Linked DNA regions of Homo sapiens: region 2 is linked to region 1. Evidence: promoter capture Hi-C in 16 types of primary human blood cells and fetal thymus (Javierre and others, 2016). All regions are on one chromosome and are shown on one strand. The core of a region is centred on a gene start or on the middle of the fragment in contact, and the rest is flanking DNA. Distances in the headings are between cores, read along the strand shown.

What was found. Contacts are between HindIII fragments. The CHiCAGO score rates a contact against its expected background, and 5 or more counts as called.
Region 2: a contact is called between a fragment that was not itself captured here and the fragment with the promoter of KRTAP22-2 in region 1, in 1 of 17 cell types (neutrophils). The highest score is 5.2, in neutrophils.

The regions. Positions count from the first base shown.
Region 1 is chr21:30,589,035-30,591,818 of GRCh38, forward strand. KRTAP22-2 (keratin associated protein 22-2) reads right to left here and starts at 1,363. Exons shown (of 1, transcript NM_001164434.1): 1 at 1,071-1,363. The coding sequence starts at 1,340. The coding sequence ends at 1,203. The HindIII fragment of the contact is 4,540 bases long and covers 1-1,672 here.
Region 2 is chr21:30,667,576-30,670,631 of GRCh38, forward strand. No RefSeq gene overlaps it. Among named protein-coding and RNA genes, the nearest start is that of KRTAP20-3, 26 kb to the left of the region's middle. The HindIII fragment of the contact is 8,660 bases long and covers 1-3,056 here.

The DNA of each region.
Region 1 (2,784 bases), core at 113-2,612:
CTGCACTTGGGGGCTGGGAGATACTTCACTAGTCTCATATTGATCTATAAAGTGTGATCCCTACGTTGATCGTTGGTAGTTCTGCTACATTTAAGAGTAGCAAATGAATTAATATGTACTATTATCTGTTTATATTTTATTCTGATTGCTTTATCATAATTAATGACTAATCATTAATAATATTTAATAAGTGGATGGAATAAACATGATAAATTATCACAGGGAGTTTCATAGAAAGTCAGCTCTCATAATTAAGACCTATCACCAGAATGCATTTGGGCCAGAAATGTGGTTTGCAAGATGTTATTCTATCCAAGTCACCACTTTAAAAAATAGTAACAGGAATTCTGCTAGAAGATGATCAGAGTTAGAAAAACTCAAAAGAGTCACTTAGATCTCTAAATGAGGTGATCTTTGCTGTGGAAACACAGGATTATCAGGCATACCAACCAGCTTCATATAGAGGATTCTTATCTATAAGAGTGAGTGAAAAGAGGTCAGAGTACTCAATGCAGGGCTGGAGTTGTATCAGTACAGAAGCACATGTTTAAATGTAGACTATTAGGAGAGAGAAAATTGCAGTAGAAAATAGCTTGGTGGGTAATAGTGCTACTGGTTTTGCCAATTACCTAGGTCAAACATTGAATTTTTCTAAAATGAAACTTGCATTAGATCAATATAGAGAACAGTATTCTTGAAACTGAACTTGAAATTACTTTTATACAAACATTTTTGGAAAAACATCAGTCATGAGTTGCCTGTTTTGTCACATCACTGACTAAAATAGCCACAGGTAGCAATTTCACTCTCTCTTTCTATTTCTCCCTTTCTCTCTCTCTCTCTCTTTCACACACACACACACACACACACACACACACAAATACACAAATGATAAAGAGAAATGAATATATATGATAAGCAATACATATTGTGAAAGTGATTATATTTATTAAAATGCAAATTTATAAGTTTTCCTGCATGGAAATTGTTAATATTATAACAGACATAAACACATAAAACTAACAAAATATCAAAGGATTTTCCCACTAACTGGTAGGAAATTCCACTAATCCAATGCAAATATGACCTGTGGTAATCAATAATTAGAGTTAGTTAAAATTGGAGAGACAATAACGAATCCATAAATAACCCTGTTGATGCAATTAGTGCATCACAAGAAAATGGCTCAAAGTGATCAGCAATCAGAATTTCTTTCTAGGAGCCAATAGGAATCTTCCATAGGAGCACGGAAAGTTGCAGGCATATCCAGAGTTACCATATTCAGAGCCATAGCTGCAACCATAGTCCAGGCTACCATAATAGTTGTGGTAGTAGCACATGGTGTCAGAAGATGGAGTTCAATTGAGGCAGATAGTAGTTTCTGAAATTTGACTCTCCTGATTTGTACAAATTATTTTATCCAACCTGAGTTATATGTGAAGGAAACCACAATCTACATTGGACTCATTCTCACAACTAATTTGCATTAAGATTAAAAAAACCCTCAAGAATCTCTTAGCCATATGTCCAGGAAAATATTAATATTGCTATGTGTCAGGATGCCAACAAGTAAAATCATGAGCCTTAAGGAGATATTCTCTTAATTTTGTGGCTTTTGCTTACTTAAAATCCCAATTTAAACTTGATGATTAGCTTCTCTGTGATCACATTAAGCTTATATTTCCTGCCTCTTGAAACATTTCTTTTTTCTTTTTCAATATCCTCCTCTACCTCCATAAATGCAGTCCTTAAACCACAGAGTGGCCAGGAATGGTTAGGGAAGGTTGGCTATGCAGTGAGGAAGCCGATGAAAATGTCTTTATTTACTTGCAAATATGCCTGTATGTTTTGACTAATTTATTTCTTAATCAATGGGACTAAAAATTTTCTTCCAAGTTCATATGTAGCTTATGTTCTTGGAGTAGTAAAGTTTTTTCTCTTCCATCATCCTCACTTTGGTTATATTATTAGTTGTGGTGTTCTCTTTGCATCTGAGAAAGCAATTAGAAACAATTACCCACCGTATCTCAAAATTCATGTTTTCCTCTCCTGACACATAATATTCACATATTTTACCTTCTTTTTATATTTAATGAATTTGCTTATTTTAAAATATATTAATTCCAAATTTCCAAAAGTATTGTAAAAATACTTTTCATCTTCTAGCAGAATTCCTGTTACTATTTTTTAAAGTGGTGACTTGGATAGAATAACATCAGCAAACCACATTTCTGGCCCAAATGCATTCTGGTGATAGCCTTAATTATGAGAGCTGACTTTCTATGAAGCTCCCTGTGATAATTTGTCACGTTTATTCCATCCACTTATTAAATATTATTAATGAATTATTAGTCATTTATTATGATAAAGCAATTAGAATAAAATATAAACAAATAATAGTACATATTAATTCATTTGCTACTCTTAAATGTAGCAGAACTACCAATGATCAACCTAGGGATCATACTTTGTAGATCAATGTGAGACTGGCAAAGTATCATATCAATAAGAGGCAAGTAGAACATTTAGTCAGAATTTCGGAACTGCACACAGTAGTTCATAAACTTTAGTGGATATATACCACCACCTTAACAATCGGAAAAGGCATGGATTCTCAAACCAGAAAAAAATCACCATGATAAATTCCTCCACTGGTTTGCATATGATCCAAAAGGATCCCAGAGTACATGAATTTATCCCCAGTTACCCCAAGCATAGAACAAAGATTGTGATTATTCTACACAGAATTTGAGTATAGAAAGTTGCATCATGTCATTCATTTGG
Region 2 (3,056 bases), core at 435-2,934, 79 kb after region 1:
TCTGTCTTGGAAAATAACAGTGCTAAGGCATCAAAGTCTACTGATAGGAAAAATTAATGACTATAAGCCTATGAAAAACAAAAATACCAGTTTGGCCAACTGCCTGAGACCAGGGAATTAGGAATCAGGCTGACCTGGCTTCAAGTCCTAGCTCTGCTATTTAGTTATCTGTATAATTCCTAATAGCTGGTTTTACTAAATTTTCATTTATTTATTGGTAAAGTGGTGATAATATGCCATCTTCACTGAGTTTTTGTGAAAAATAAATAGGTTAGTACCTGTAAGATGCTTAGTAGACTGGCTGGCACATAACAGCACTCAGTAAAGATCATATACATCTATGTTTATCTTCCCACAAAGTAATAAGCTAAAGATAATTAAATTATCTATTAATCAGAGTTCACAAAAAAAATAATTTTAAATGATCCAGGTATATGATTTGCCTGTGCCTCCACCCAAATCTTAATTGTAACTTTTATATTTCCCACATGTCATGGGGAAAAGCCGGTGGGAGGTGATTGAATTATGGGGGCAGGTCTTTCCTGCACTGCTCTCATGACCAGTGAATGCGTCCCATGAAATATGATGGTTTTAAAAATGGGAGTTTCCCTGCACAAACTCTCTTCCCTTGTCTGCTGCCATGTGAGACATGCCTTTTACCTTCCACCATGATTGTGAGGTCTCCCCAGCCACATGGAACTGTAAGTACAATTAAAACCTATTTTTCTTCCCAGTCTCAGGTATGTCTTTATCAGCAGTGTGAAAACAAACTAATAGAGTAAATTGGTACCAGTAAAGTGAGGTGCTGCTAAAGATACCTGATAGTGTGGAAGCAACTTTGGAACTGGGTAACAGGCAGGGGTTGGAACAGTCAGGAGGGATCAGAAGAAGACAGGAAAAATGTGGGAAAGTCAGAAACTTCCTAGAGATGTGTTGAATGGCTTTGACAAAGATGATGCTGATAGTGATATGGAAAATAGCATCCAGGTCGGGGTGGTCTCAGATGGAGATAAGGAACTTGCTGGGAATTGGAGCAGAGGTGACCCTTCTTATGTTTTACAAAGAGACTGGCAGCATTTTGACCCTGCCCTAGAGATCTGTGGAACTTTGAACTTGAGAGAGATGCTTTAGGGTAACTGTCAGAAGACATTTCTAAGCAGCAAAGCATTCAAGATGTGACTTGGGTGCTCTTAAAGACATTCAGTTTTAAAAGGGAAGCAGAGCATAAAAGTTTGGAAAATTTGCAGCCTGACAATGAAATAGAAAAGAAAATCCCATTTTCCAAGGAGAAATTCAAGCTGGCTGCAGAAATTTGCATAAGTAGCAATGAGCTGAATGTTAATCCCCAAGACAATGGGGAAAACATCTCCAGAGCATGTCAAAGGCCTTCACGGCAGCTCCTCCCATCACAGGCCCAGAGGCCTAGGAAGAAAAAGGTGATTTACTGGGCCAAGCCCAGTGTCTCTGTGCTGTGTGCAACCTAGGGACTTGGTTCCCTGTGTCCAAGCCACTCTAGCCATGGCTGAAAGGGGCCAATACAGAGCTCAGGCCATGACTTCACAGGGAGCAAGCCTCAAGCCTTGGCAGCTTCCTGGGGCTGTGAAGCCTACCAGTGCACGGAAATCAAGAATTGAGGTTTGGGAACCTATGCCTGGATTGCTGAGCATGTATGGAAATGCCTGGATGTACAGGCAGAAGTTTGTTGCAGGGTCAGGGCACTCATGGAGAACCTCTGCTAAGGCAATATGAAAGGGAAATGTGGGGCCAGAGCCCCCACACAGAGTCCCTACTGGGGCACCACTGAGTGGAGCTGTGAGAAGAGGGCCAATGTCCTCCAGACCCCAGAATGGTAGATCCACAGACAGCTTGCACCATGTACCTGGAAAAGCTGCAGACACTAAATGCCAGCCCATGGAAGCAGCCAGGAGGGAGGCTGTACCCTGCAAAGCCACAGGGGCAGTGCTGCCCAAGACCATGGAAACCCACCTCTTGCATCAGCAAGACCTGGATGTGAGACATGGAGTCAATGGAGATCATCCTGGAGCTTTAAGATTTAACTGCCTTGCTGGATTTTGGACTTGCGTGGGGCCTGTAGCCCCTTTGTTTTGGCCAATTTCTCCTATTTGGTATGGCTATATTTACCCAGTGCCTGTACCCCCATTGTGTCTAGGAATTAACTAACTTGCTTTTGATTTTACAGGCTCATAGGTGGAAGGGACTTGCCTTGTCTCAGATGAGATTGGAATGTGGACTTTTAAGTTAATGCTGAAATGAGTTAAGACTTTGGGGTACTGTTGGGAAGGCATTATTGGTTTTGGAATGTGAAGACATGGAATTTTGGAGGGGCCAGGGGCAGAATCATAAGGTCTGGCTCTGTCCTCACCCAAATATCATCTTGAATTGTAACTCACACAATTCCCACGTGTCATGGGAAGAAGCCGGTGGGAGGTGATTGAATTATGGGTGCGGGTCTTTCCTGTGTTGCTCTTGTGATAGTGAATGAGTCTCATGAGATCTGATGGTTTTAAAAACAGGAGTTTCCCTGCACAACTCTCTTCTCTTGTCTGCCACCATGTGAGATGTGCCTTTTACATTCCACCATGATTACAAGGCCTCTCCAGCCACATGGAACTCTAAGTCCATTAAAACCTCTTTTTCTTTCCAATCTCAGGTATGTCTTTATCAGCAGAATGAAAACAGACTAATACACCAGGAAAAATGTAACTCAAATTATAATGTGTCTTATATGTTTCTTAGAATTTTCTGTTTTATCTAACTATACATATCCCTCTGCAGTATTCTAAAAAACCAGACCTATTTAATTGAAAAGTACAGTCCTATAACTGGATACTCAGTATCACTGAAATAAATGAATAAATTTTAACTGGTAATTGAAAAAGAATTATTAGTTGCAGCTCATGATGATGATGATGACTATGATGAAATCAGAAATTTCCACATGATCTAATGATTGTCACTGAATTACTGGCACAGCTAATATATATCATCTCAAGAAACCTGTACCCTTTCCTTATTACAGTGTTCCATTCACTGTA